Regions from separate parts of the Homo sapiens genome. Here all the other regions are linked to region 2. The links are contacts of gene promoters, found by promoter capture Hi-C in blood cells and fetal thymus (Javierre and others, 2016). All regions are on one chromosome and are shown on one strand. Each heading gives the region's core, a stretch centred on a gene start or on the middle of the fragment in contact. The rest is flanking DNA. Distances are from core to core; before and after follow the strand shown.

Region 1 (2,700 bases), core at 160-2,659, 340 kb before region 2:
GTACAACAAACCCCCATGACACAAGTTTACCTGTGTAGCCAACTTGGCACTTGTACCCCTGAACTTAAAATAAAAGTTAAAAAAATAGTATTAAAGCCATTTAGACTCAGGCAACATGAGTAAGAGAAAGAATATAAGGGATAAGATCAGAGAAATGAAAGAGGAACCAGGTGCCTAGCAGGCTATGATGAGGACAATGAATATTATTCTTAGCATTAGAAAGCATTAGAAGGTTTTGAGCAGAGGAGAAACATGATTCAACTTATATTTTCAAAGGATCACCAAGTCACCCAGGCTGCTTTGTGGAGGACAGACTGGGGAGGGGGGTGCAATTACAGAAGCAGGAAGATGAATTGGAAGGCTACTGAAATAGTCCAGCTGAAAAAATTGGTCCCAACTCCCTTGATGATATATGCACATATATAAGAAAACCAGGTTTTCTTACTGCAGCCATTCACAGGGTCTTTCCTATATTACTATGGCAAGAGTCAAACTGGAGAGCCAAGAAATGTGTCTGCATATGCAGGAATATATATATATATGGCGCTATATGCAGGAATATATATAGCGCTATATACATACAGCTATAGTCAGAGATAGCATCATGATATGGATAGCAGGAAAGGAGGGCTTTGCTTTAACAGATGTACAAGAACAGAGTTTGTGTAGGAGAAGGAGGAGGAAGAGAAATTTTATTTGCTAAAGGTTAGTTATTTTGAAAATGTGTTCTTTGATGAGAAGGATCAGGAATCAGGATAGTCTAGATAGAAAACACAGAGGCAACATATGTGGCACACACACACACACACACACACACACACAAAACACCAAACAAACAAAAAGAAAGGCCTGTTGATCTATTTCTGAAGAGACATGAGAAGAGTTATTTAGAAAGAAGAGCCAGCAGGAGGCAATGTAGGCTTACAAAGTACAATAGGCACATCAGCCTAGAAATCTTCAATCAATCAATCAAACCTTTCATAATGTAACTAATAGGGAGGAAAACATACTGGGAGGCATAGGATTACTGTGAGCTGTTTTGTAAAATACTCAGTAGTCATTGGTTTCTATTGTTGTAACAAAATATCCCTTTGTTATATATGATTAGCAAAATTGCCAGTGCCTGCATTTACAAATCCTAAACTCTATAGAGTTCATTTTCCTAAATTTCAACTACATTTGAGCTAATCAATAAATGGTCCCCTGACAATATAGCCCAGAGTTTAATTCCAGAGAAACCAGGAAGGGACCACTGTTACCAGGAGCAGAGTATTATCCCAAAGAACAACTGCAAATTCAATTGTTCAGGTTGGTTGGAGGTCATGTTCTATGTTCTACATGAACAGGAAAAGGACAGAGGCATTGTCTGGGTAGTCCATCCCAAAGAAACCACAGGGCAAAGTCTGGGACAAAAGAAGAAACACTAAAGCTGCCATGCACTTGCATCTTGAAGTCAGAGCAGCCAGGAAAGCTACTGTTCCAAAAGCTGCTTGAGAACTTCTGAGACTATTAATGTTGGCACAGCTCAGTCCCACAGACCAGCAGCTCAATAGAAATCCCTGGAATTTCTAAAGGTATCTGATGTTTCTAACTTGCCACTACCAGCTGTCAGGAGTATACACTCAGCACAGTAAAGAGCCCACAAATGTGCCCAGTTTACCTGGAAACTACCTTTTCCTCTATATTAGTGCTGTATTCCTCTAAGGGGTTGAATAAGTAGGACACAGGCTGAGCTTCTGAAATAGAGACCCCAAATACAGTGGTATAAACAAAGTGTAAGTTTATTTTGTGCTCATTTGATTATGCAGAGATTAGTAGTCCCAGATCGGGTGAGAGAATCTGCCTTTCTCAACAGGGTGTTCCATCTCTGGGCCACCTTGGCTGTCCCAGTCGCATCACCTTCTAGTAACACACATCACTTTCTCTCCTATTCCTTTGGTCCCAACTAAGTCTATGAGAGGAACTGGGAAACAGAATGCCTACCGAGCAGCCACACACCCTTCAGAAACTCAAGATTTCTTTTTAAAATAAGGGGAGATGAATCCGGATAGACGTCTAGGAAACTCTGCCATGGGTAACTTGACAAATCATCACAAACGTGAGGCTTGAGAAGAGATTAATTGGGATTTTCCCTGTTTTATAGAAGAAGAAACTAAAATAAAGTTGTATGACATTTTTTTAACTCATTCAGAAAAATCTAGAAGTCAGTGGGTGACTTTCCTTGCTGTCATTCGTTATAAAAACTCCATGCTTATACACTTGTTTTTGTAAGCATTTACATCCTTTGTACATACACAAAATTTTGCTGGAAATAATTTTATTCCTCCTCCTATTACTTTTAAAATTATCAGTGGTCCAGAGTTCAAAGATTAAGAATTATAAAATAGACCATGGAAAATTTAGCAATAATTGAGCTCTCCATGTCTGGTACTTATGTAGAAGCATGTTTTAATAAACATCTGCAGAACATATGCTCAGTGGAAAACCCCTTTGACTGAGCAAGATTGAGAAATGTTTCACCCAGAATCATCACTCCCATTTCCAAATGAATGCATATAATTCCCCAGCAAGAGATTTTTAAGGCTTGATTCTTTTATGTTAAAGTAAATATGCAGGAAAATATTAAATAATTATGAATGTCTATGCAATATGATAATATTAGTAATGCTGCACCACAATTGCTGGGGGTGATAATAGGCA
Region 2 (2,700 bases), core at 50-2,549:
ATGAACATGCAAACTCCTCCCTTCTGAAAACCTTTGCGTGAGTGGTCAGCAGGCTAATTCATCCATTGCAATGTGGCTTTGTGTTAGGGTTCTGTTTCCGTGCTGCCTGCAAGATAATCACAGATGTGACTGCATCTTAGAAGTTCCTGAATCTTTCAAGACAGTCTGGTTCACAAGAAAATTAAAAGGTGGAGGTCGGGCGCGGTGGCTCACGCCTGCAATCCCAGCACTTTGGGAGGCCGAGGCGGGCGGATCACCTGAGGTTGGGAGTTCGAAACCAGCCTGACCAACATGGGGAAACCCCGTCTCTGCTAAAAATACAAAATTAGCCAGGCGTGGTGGTGCATGCCTGTAATCCCAGCTACTCGGGAGGCTGAGGCAGGAGAATCGCTTGAACCCGGGAGGCAGAGGTTGCGATGAGCCGAGATCGTGCCATTGCACTCCAGCCTGGGCAACAAGAGCGAAACTCTGCCACACACACACAAACACACACACACACACACACACGGTGTAGTTTAGGAAGTAAAAAAAAAAAAAAAAAAAAAATCAGATCTCCCCTCACACCTCAGATCTGAAGGCACAAACTCTAGGGCCAGGGCGTTCGCCTACCCAACTCCACATGCACTTGCAGGTCACCTAGCACTCAGGTACCTAGCACTCAGGTACATTGTGGCTCCTTACCTCTCACGACAGCAGCAACAACGTTGATTGGAAGTTTATCACTGTGTGTTACGGGCCATGGGCCATGTGTGTTAGAATTTTATGTGAAATTAACATTTAATTCTCACGGACACCCCTGAAACAGATGCCACAGCCCCCATTTTGCCAACGAGGCAGCTGAGGTTCCCAGAGGCTCAATACCAGCACCATGAGCCGCAGCACGCAAGGCAAACACAGCCGGAGGTGAGCACATACCTGCTTCGCACCCCATGCGCCTAACCACAAGGTTCCCTCCCTCCAGGAAGGCCGTTGTCTTCCCTGGGACGACTTGCCAGCTCTGAGGCATGACAGTACGGGCCCCCAGAAGGGTGACCAGGAGGCCCTCCTCGTCCCAGCTGCCGGCGTCGCCGCCCACTGCAGGGCCCGGGCTGTGACTCGTGGGGACGGTTCCCTGCGCCCCGGCGGGGGAGGTGGGCGGGGAGGGGCGGCGGGGCGCCGGGGCGGGGCTCGGGACGGCCGGGCTGGGAGCTGGAGCCCACAGCGGGAAGCGGCCGCCGCCCGGGCCTCGCAGGGCTAGGCGAGGCGAGGGGGGGCGGGGCCGGGCGCTACGGGAAGGGGAGGCCGCGCGGACCGGGAGCCGCACCGCGCCAGCCGGGCTGCAGCGGCCGCGCACCAAGGCTGCGATGGGGCTGGAGACGGAGAAGGCGGACGTACAGCTCTTCATGGACGACGACTCCTACAGCCACCACAGCGGCCTCGAGTACGCCGACCCCGAGAAGTTCGCGGACTCGGACCAGGACCGGGATCCCCACCGGCTCAACTCGCATCTCAAGGTGAAGCCCGGGGCGGGCGGGCCCAAGTCCCCGCTGAGGCCGGGAGGTGCGGGCGCCCCTCAGCCCCGCCCTAACCCGTCCCACCATTGCTACCGGGTCGGCCCCGCAGGGTCTGAGACCCGCACCCTTCCCCGGTCCCACCCGTCACCAGGCCGCCCGCGTAGCCAGGAATTCTTAGCCAGGTTCCTGTGCGCCCACCGTGACCCTAAGAGAAGAGGCGGACGCCCTGGCACGTCCTTCCCTCCTGCTTCCCCCGCCCAAAGCGCTCCCGGTTCCCGGGGCGTCAGGTTGGCTGACAGTTCGGGGTCCCTGCGTCCTGTCTCCTCAGCTGGGCTTCGAGGATGTGATCGCAGAGCCGGTGACTACGCACTCCTTTGACAAAGTGTGGATCTGCAGCCATGCCCTCTTTGAAATCAGCAAATACGTAATGTACAAGTTCCTGACGGTGTTCCTGGCCATTCCCCTGGCCTTCATTGCGGGAATTCTCTTTGCCACCCTCAGCTGTCTGCACATCTGGTGAGACGGGGCACACCGGGTGGACCGGCTTTCTGAAACATGGGCATATTCTCCGCCACCTGCCCCCTACTCTCCTCTTATCCCAGGCCGGCGTCAGGAGGAGGAACGCGCATCAGTTCCCAAGCAGTAGGAAGAACTGGAAGGCCTTGAAAGGCAATGCGCTTCCTTTAGAATAACAGTTTGGGCTTGGAGTTTCAACAGGAGAAAGAATGTCGGTCTTTCCTGGGGTGTGATTTTCCTTGCATACATAAGGCTGGGCTGAGTGTGGAGGCGGGTACCTGGAAGCCACACTTCTTACCACAGGCTGCTCTCGGGGCCCTGTTGTGACTCGTACCTGCGGTTCTGGGCAGGACTCTTCTTTCTTTCATTGCCTTTTATTCAGTCACTGCCTGTGCTTGGGGTAAAACAAAAGTGATCTCTGAGCAGAATGCCGCTGACAGTAGAATTGGATGAGGATGTCAGACCTGGTTAAGCAGTAGTGTGGAGGGGCTGCTTCAACTTTGCCCCTGGCAGATGGCAAGGATGGGACCCAGAGGAAAGGGAGGTGTGTGCAGTTAAGGCGAGGGTCCCCCCCAGTACAAACGAATGAAAACTCCAGCTGCGGGATAATGAATGAGAAGGCCTCCAAATTACTTTTTCACTGATGAAACACAAATGGAAGTGGCATATAATTAAAGGGGAAAGAAATATG
Region 3 (2,708 bases), core at 135-2,634, 280 kb before region 2:
TTGTACTTAATTTTCATAATATTTGTGGAGGTATTTGAAGATATTAGGTTAAGTTTAATTAATTTAAATCTGTAGTATAAGGCTCTGAAGGCTGTAATAGTGTGGGTCCCATAAGTCTAGGAGTGATGTATTACTTACCTTGGTATTTAATTATGGGAAAATGAAAAATAATGGAACATTTATTTTCTTTAAAAGTTATCTCTCTCAAAATAAGGCTGTTAAAATAATTTTAAAAGATTAAAAAAAAACTATATGAGTGCTTTTTTACGTACCATGCACTGTTCTAGACTCTGGGGTTATAGTTGTGAACAAGAATGACACTGAACTTAAGCTTGTATCATAGAATTATGCTATTGCAAGTGTTGATAGAGCAATGTAAATATTGAAAGTAAGCACAACTGGAATTATACCCGTCAGTGAACTCTTGATAGGTTAGCAGTACGCTATGTTTCTAACACAGACAGTGAGCAATTTTGATGGTGATCCCTGGGCTTGATTCTTGGTTTTGCAAACTTTGTAATTAGGGATTCTTATTTCATTTGTCTTAAGTAATAGCAAATGTAAAAGATGGGAAAATGAGAAAGCAGCTTTTATGTATTAGAATGTGAAAAAGATTATGAATGCATAAAGCTATACAAATAGACTTACACCTATAATATACACAAACTATAAGTCTTCTCCCTGCCTACAAATGCCTTACAAAAGAGTCATTCTTGGATTTCCTGTTTGCAGTCATAGCTAATTTTTGTTTGGTAACTACTGCCATGGTAACCAAAATTATGATTTTAAAAGAATTGTTTATTAAATCATTAATATACAGGAAATTATTTTACTTTTTACAAGGTGGTGGTATCCAGAGAAATTATATTATTAATTATGAAATCAACTTTTTCTAGGAGAGGAAGATAAGGAAACAAAAGACTAATCAAAAACATTGCAAAACTGCAGATTTTCAGGATTTTAAAGAAAAATAATTTGGTAATTGATAACTTCACTACTGTTCTTTGAGTAAATATCCATGTTTAAAATTTGCCTCAAGCACTATTAGAGGATTAAATTTAGAGGTTATGCTTTTCAACTGCCCAACTACAATCTTTGACTCTCCTACAAAAGAGCTGCCATTTAGCATGGTTTTGTCAATTTTCAGTTCTAAGTGCCCTGTCTACCTAACATTCTAGTTAGATAATGGGGAATTAGAGCGATAAGGATATGCATGACTATAATTTTCTAAGTATCACTGTATTTATTTTGGTCAAATTCAAAAAAGTAAAAAAGCATAGTTTAGAATTGCCAATTTCTCTGTTCCTTAGTCTGTTAGAATGGTGGGGAGTCGGCTCAGATTTGAGCATGGCTTAAAGTGGGAGAGCGTTATTAGAAGCCAGCCTAGTGGGGATTGCTGAGATCTCATCTGCTGAATGACAGCAAAGTTACTACTCTGTAAATATACTTAATCTGAAATGCTGAATTATCCTCAAACCATGAGTGATTCAGCTTGTGTTTATCATTGTGACATTCTGGCCACTGTGAAAAGCTGTAAACAGGAGTTTCAGGGTGTTCATTGCATAGCTTATCTGAGCAGCGAGCCCAGCAGAAAAGATGGCATTCAGCCCAGCAGAAATGCCTTGATAAGGAGTCCATTAATGCATCTCTAGCCACAATGAACTTTTCCCTTGCTTTGTTTGATGATAAAGTGATATCATGTTTCATTGAAAAATGACCATGTAGATGTTAGGTGGATTTTTGTTTTTATATGACCACAACGTGACAGTCTTAACAGAATGAGTCACAAAGTAAGGATCAAGGATCTGATTTTTCCTTTATGAGATACTGGCCTACAATAAAAATAACTGGGGGTTAAAAAAATTACCCTTTGTTTTTCGTAGAGAATATTAAAAGTGCAGTTTAGATTTAAAACTACAGACTCTAAACTCCATATCTATCAGTATCACCTCTTGAGCAAAATACCGATGTCACCTTTGATAGATTTTTTTTTAAAAAAGGAAGGAAGATGAGTGAGCAAAACAGATGTGTAAGTTAACTACAGTGCTGGATAGAATGACATAAGTGCTATAATACAATTTCTTATCTGGGATGAGGAACCTTTTTATAAACAAAAATTAATCATTGGTTGATATTTTTAAAAACACAATAAAAATTTATTACTTAAAAGACAAATACAGGGCCAATTAAAAAAATTATTAAATGCAAGAGACACAAAATTACTTTAAGTATATAGTAGTTCCTAATTGCCTACTGTCAGTTTCTCTGCCTATCTCATCACAGACTAGTGACTTACACTTTGTGAACTGCCACTTTGAGTAGCACAGCAATAATAGAAATACAAACAACTGTTATGAAGTCTTAGAAGCAGAAGTAACTAACTTTAATTGTGTGGGTTGCGATTATTTTATCAAGGAAACACCTCCTATAGAATAAAGAAGCTTTCATTAGGCAAAGAAAGCATTCCATAAAGAGGAAATAGCATGAACCAAAGGTACCTGGCTGTGAAAAGTCAGTAAAACCACCCTTGACATTTTCAGTTTTGTCTCTTCTAAAATAAAGCTAAAGTAGATGAGCTGCAGTAATTTGTAATTTTTCCACAGTACAGGTTTGAATTAAAGAGGTATGTCACTGAGCTAGTATAAGACCCTAGCCCACAGCTGAAGAGTTTCTGATCTCCCTTAACTGTGATGATTATTTAATACATT
Region 4 (2,899 bases), core at 240-2,739, 370 kb before region 2:
CTGTAAAGCACATTTGATGGCGAGGTCAGAATGGTTGGCTTTTTTTCTTTCCATCATAAAGTATGCTGTTTCCCCTAGATCAGCAAAACATGCATAGCAGGTGATAAGATGTACTGCAGAGAAGCCAACGGCATCATTTTAAGGAATTAGTGCATAAAGTTGGCCTATAAGTCAAAGAAATGTATGTAATCAAAATTACTCATGGAAATCCCCTAACTCTACCATAAACCATATCCTTTAGTGTTGTTTATATGGCACTGTTCAAAAATGCTATTTCTTAATGTTTTCTTAAGGATTTGAACAAATTTCTGCTTCTTGGGTCTGGCATCAGGTAAAGTAGTTGGCTATTCAGGTCTACAGTGAATTTTTTTAAATATGCAAAAAAGATCAAAGCTTAGAATATTATCAGCTAAGTATAACTCTCGAAAAACTGAATATGCTCAAGGATCAGGTCTAATAAAGTTAATAATTTTTACAGCTTCATCAAAGGCAATCCTAAGTAAAGTTGGCATTGTTTTCTTTAACTGTGAGTGCATGGCAGTGAAGAATATAATGACTGACTAGCGGTTTGGTGCCACGGCCTTCATTCATAAAAAGGCACATGCAATTTATTCACCATTGCTTTTGCACAGTAAGTGCAAATATTCAAACTGTGAAAATGGAAAATAACATTTTAGCAATAAAATGTTTTAGGAGACACCTCGGGAACTATAGAACATTCTTTGAGAACTATAGCGTTAAAACAACTTTTAAACAAGCTATAGAATATTAGTTAGCTGGAAAAAAGTGAGAAATCTTTTCCTGAAATGGCAAAGCATCATTAAATTTTGTTGTGAATGTTTACAGTGAATATTTTAATTAATATGCATATAAAATTTCACCAATTGTGTTTTTTGTCTTTTATCTCATTTATCTGTCCTCTTTTCAATACATTGTCAACTTTGTAGCTTTGTTTCATTAATTTTTAAGCTTTTCTTCAAAACAGTTTTAAGACTACTTTAGAAAATAAATTATTACAGTGCTTAAAAAGAAAATAAATGTATGCAATAAAAGCTATCATCGATTTTTAAGTTGCTTATAATCTTTTCAGTTTTTGTCAATTTTCAAAAGTTACATAATGACAAAGAGTGATTTAATTTTTGTTTACCTCACAATACCTTATGTTTAGATTCTCGGCAACAAAACTACAAACGTGTTATGTACCAAACGAAAATAATTCTTTCCTTAATTAGAAAAGTCTGGCCAGGCACGGTGGTTCATGCCTGTAATCCCAGCACTTTGGGGGGCCAAGGCAGGCAGATGACTTGAGGCCAGGAGTTCGAGACCAGCTTGGCCAACAGGGTGAAACCCCATCTCTACTAAGAATACAAAAATTAGCCAGACGTGGTGGCGTGTGCCAGTATTCCCAGCTACACAGGGGACTGAGGAACCCCACAAAGTGGACATTGCAGTGAGCTGAGATCACGCCCCTGCACTCCAGCCTGGGTGACAGAACAAGACTCTGTCTCAGAAAAAAAAAAAAAAAGTAGGGGGATGGGGAAAAACATTCTTTGCCAATAAATGATTTCTGGGAAACATAATTTAATCATTTAAATTAAAGACTTTTCATGCCCCTCTTGTTGATTTCCCAAAAATGTAGCTTTTTTTTCCTGACTGAATTTTCTTTGAAATAATTAAAAGAAAAAGAAAATTTACCTCTTTACTTCTCATGTTCTTGTGTTATCTTTCAGAGCTTAACCTATGGTACTGTAGTAAACGCTAAAACTTTATGAATAGCAGCTTTTTAGATGCCTAAGACATCTTTAAGATTAGAGAGCGATGTTTATGAAGTAGAATACTATTGAATTAGTTAAGCAGGTAAAAGAGAAGAACAGGTCCTGAGCAGTAATAATGCAAAACAATAGCAACAACAAAAAAAAATTAGATCAACATAAGCTCCTGATGTGTAATCACTGACAGAAAAAGCTGGCAAACCAAGCCAAGAGATAGCAGGCCAGTCAATCCAGACTAAAAGCTTAAGCTAAAAATAACTGCCTCACTAGGTCTTTGTAGAAAAATTCTACATGCTAAGGATGTCAACTTAAATGTGTCTGGTTTATGAATAAGAATATTTAAGAACAAAGGCTGCATACATTAAAAGAAATAAAATTAATATAAAAGACTGAGTCAAGTAAATGATCTGTGTAAGTTCAGAAACTTTTAGATTAAATAGTTGAAAAGCTGTGAAACTAGAATGACAGCTTTTATCCTTTATCATATTTAAAGCAGGGTGTCTATGCTTGACTTCTGTTCTCATGCTAGATATAAAAAATAAGAATAAAAAGAAAGAGGGAAGGAAAAATGTATACCATATATTGCTGCTTCTAAATCAATTACACATTGTACACAAATTGAATCACCTCTTACTTAAAAGCTAATCAGAAACATTACTATGCACAGAAATGACCTGTTTTCCACCTAAATTCTAGTTCAAACCCTTCCCTTTGGGTCTCTGAAATTTTTTTTATTCACTTCTTTTTATTACTTTTACATATCAAGAGTAAATGTGGTTAGTTTTGAATCATTTATTTTGAAGGAAAAAATTACATGAAAACAGGTTAATAAGACTGTGAGCATTGCTATACGAAAAATTAGAAGTCTTCTTCGCCCTTTTTTGATAACTGCATTAAGTATATGAACCCAAATACTTTCTCTAATTATACACATCTTACAAATATGTTCATATTAATGGAAAACAAAAGGTATGCTATAGCTTTGTGGTAGAGTGGAAATAAATGCACCAATTATACTTAAAGTATTAAATAATGTTATAATACTGGCCTTTGAAACTAAAATAAATGTCTTATTTATAAAGCATCAGGAAAACCTCTTCAGCTCCTGCTCAAATACGTTGCACATT
Region 5 (2,700 bases), core at 64-2,563, 320 kb before region 2:
TATAAAATTAAGTAAAGTAATATTTAGTTTGCTCAGAGGGAATAAACATCTTGTGAGAGAAAAAAATTAATGAGGTTCTTGGAAGTATTTCTCTATCTCTTAGACAATTGGTAATTATCATGAAATACTACTAGTCATTAACATAGAAAACTGGGCTAGACAGAGACCTAAGAGTTATACACCCATGATTAACTTTGATTGGAGAAAACCAATTGCAATGTATGAGATCTCCTTTAATACTACTTCCTTTAATTCCATGTCTTCCCCTTCCTGCCACCTCAATTTCCACCATTTAATTTGGCACATGATGCCTCTCATAATCTGGTCTCTCAGATCTCACTACCCCAAATTTTCGACGGCCCTTACCCACTATATGACCAGTGATCCGGTAGTGCCAAACTACTTTTAGTTTCTCAAGTAAGCTATCATCTTTGATGGCCATTTGTTTTGCATATTTTCTTCCCTCTGCTTAGAACAGTCTTACCATTACCTCGAAAAAGAAATCAGACTATATTAGTTTGCGAGGGCCACCATAATGAAGTACCACAGACTGGGTAACTTAACATAAATTTTCTCAGAGTTCTGGAGGCTAGAAGTCCAACATAAACAAGTCAGCACAGTTGATTTCTTCTATGGGGTCTCTCATTGGCTTGTAAATGGCTGTTTTCCTGTGTTTTCACATATTTCCTCTGTCCATGTCTGTGTCCAAATTTCTTCTTCTCATAAGGACACCATTCATATGAAATTAGGGCCTACCCTACTCACCTCACTTTAACTTATCTCTTTAAAGACAATATCTCAGAATACAGACACATTCAAGGTTACTGAATGCTATGACTTCAATATATGAATTTGGGGGGAGAGTAAAATTCAGATTATAACAGACAAATTCTTACTGTCTACAATACAGCTTTATAGTAATTTCTTCTAAGAGTTCTTCATCTTGAATCTTTCCATCTCAGTCTGAGTTAGGTCTCCTTCCTCAGAACTTCCAAAGCACTACCTGTATTCCTCTATCACATTAAAGGATATGTTTTCTCACTCTGCTCTAAGATGTGACTTTCTTTTCCTTATCCCAGCACCTACCCCTGTGCCTCACACCTGGTAAGTGTGCCATACTCTTTGTACCTTGAAGTATAAGCCCTCTAGCCTGGCTGTATTGTGATAGTATTTCATTGGATAGGAAATATAGAATTAGAAAACATAGACAATTAGTGCCTTTTTGTAATGTTGAGTTTAAGAGATATCTATATATAGAAATAAGTAGCAAGGAAGTGGAAATACAGGCATGAAACTCAACGGAGAAAACCATGCTGAAAGTATGATTTGGTGAATGGGTATGATCACTCAGGGAACATGTATAAATGAGAATAGCATGGAAAAATCTTTAAAGAATAACAAATTTTTGAAACAGCAGGAGAAAGAATAGAAATGTCAGAGAAGCAAAAGGAGGCTAAGAGAGAATAGTTTCTCTTCCCATTGATACTATTTTCCATACTAGCATCAAACTTTGCAGTGAGCTGTTTATCCTTTATATTGCCACCAGGGGTCTCCAACAACTTCTGCAATGCCTGACAGAACTCAAAGTATCTTATAGCTGTCTTTACAAGGGCTTTGGCAACAATAACATTCCTTGAGAAAGAAGACCAGGTAGGTGCCTCAAAACAGTGTTAGATATCCTTGACTGAGCTGAAGTCCGGAGGAGTCCTTTAAGTTACTCTTGGTCTGCAGCTTACTGACCACCAGGTAGTCTCTTGTACTGGCAACTTTGTCACACAATGAATCACTGAGACATACTCTCCCTATCAAGAATTGAGACTGGTTGTTCACCTACGACACAATGAAGCCCAATACATAGATTGCATAAGGTTTGATGAGCACCCAGAGCAGACTGAAAAGAACTGGATGTTCTGAAGAAAAAAATTAAATCATGTAATAGGGACTCTATTATTTTGATTCTAGAAATTATCTATCTTCAAAAAAAAAAAGATGAGAAAAAAATGTTTTAAGTCTATCTCCTAGAATAAAGAAAAATAAGATTAGGCTGAATAAAGCTGACATTTATTTCTTAAACTTTTTCCTTTTTCTAATTATTCCTGCAGACAACTGCAATTAACTTTTATATATATATGTACTTTCATATTAAATGTTTAGAATTTTCACTAACATGGAAACGTTTAGTACAGAAAAGTAAAGATTGAACAATATTACTCATAGACCTCCTACCTCATTAACATTTTGCATATTTGTTTCTTCCATATATGTTTTGTCTCGATGTGTCCGGAATTGGTGGGTTCTTGGTCTCACTGCCTTCAAGAATGAAGCCGTGGACCCTCGCGGTGAGTGTTACACTTCTTAAAGGCGGAGTATCCGGAGTTTGTTCTTTCTGTTGTTCAGATGTGTTCGGAGTTTCTTCCTTCTGGTTTGTTCGTGGTGTCGCTGGCTCAGAAGCGAAGCTGCACACCTTCGCGGTCAGCGTTACAGCTCTCAAGGCGGTGCGTCTGGAGTTGTTCGTTTCTTCCAGTGGGTTCTTGGTCTCACTGGCTTCAGGAGCGAAGCTGCAGACCTTTGCCGTGAGTGTTACAGGCCCGTAAAGGCAGTGTGGACTCAAAAGAGTCAACAGCAGCAAGATTTATTGCAAAGAGCAAAAAAACAAAGCTTCCACAGTGTGGAAGCCGGACCCCACCTAGTTTCCACTGC

What was found. The method cuts DNA at HindIII sites, captures the fragments that hold promoters and counts their contacts. A CHiCAGO score of 5 or more calls a contact.
Region 1: a contact is called between a fragment that was not itself captured here and the fragment with the promoter of CAV2 in region 2, in 8 of 17 cell types (naive CD8 T cells, naive B cells, total CD4 T cells and 5 more). The highest score is 7.4, in naive CD8 T cells.
Region 3: a contact is called between a fragment that was not itself captured here and the fragment with the promoter of CAV2 in region 2, in 1 of 17 cell types (endothelial precursors). The highest score is 6.9, in endothelial precursors.
Region 4: a fragment that was not itself captured here is called in contact with the fragment with the promoter of CAV2 in region 2 in 1 of 17 cell types (total B cells); the score reaches 5.5 in total B cells.
Region 5: a contact is called between a fragment that was not itself captured here and the fragment with the promoter of CAV2 in region 2, in 2 of 17 cell types (total CD8 T cells and endothelial precursors). The highest score is 6.3, in total CD8 T cells.

The regions. Positions count from the first base shown.
Region 1 is chr7:116,162,265-116,164,964 of GRCh38, forward strand. No RefSeq gene overlaps it. Among named protein-coding and RNA genes, the nearest start is that of TES, 47 kb to the right of the region's middle. The HindIII fragment of the contact is 5,978 bases long and covers 1-2,700 here.
Region 2 is chr7:116,498,439-116,501,138 of GRCh38, forward strand. CAV2 (caveolin 2) reads left to right here and starts at 1,300. Exons shown (of 3, transcript NM_001233.5): 1 at 1,300-1,493; 2 at 1,822-2,009. The coding sequence starts at 1,344. It overlaps CAV2-DT (CAV2 divergent transcript), which reads right to left and starts at 1,078. Exons shown (of 3, transcript NR_188012.1): 1 at 916-1,078. RefSeq lists enhancers at 315-816, 863-1,002 and a silencer at 1,183-1,272. The HindIII fragment of the contact is 7,148 bases long and covers 1-2,700 here.
Region 3 is chr7:116,216,714-116,219,421 of GRCh38, forward strand. All of the region lies in intron 1 of TES (testin LIM domain protein), which reads left to right. Among named protein-coding and RNA genes, the nearest start is that of TES, 7.5 kb to the left of the region's middle. The HindIII fragment of the contact is 2,110 bases long and covers 330-2,439 here.
Region 4 is chr7:116,132,028-116,134,926 of GRCh38, forward strand. It overlaps a transcript of TFEC not described here. Among named protein-coding and RNA genes, the nearest start is that of TES, 77 kb to the right of the region's middle. The HindIII fragment of the contact is 1,045 bases long and covers 968-2,012 here.
Region 5 is chr7:116,178,853-116,181,552 of GRCh38, forward strand. No RefSeq gene overlaps it. Among named protein-coding and RNA genes, the nearest start is that of TES, 30 kb to the right of the region's middle. The HindIII fragment of the contact is 2,686 bases long and covers 1-2,656 here.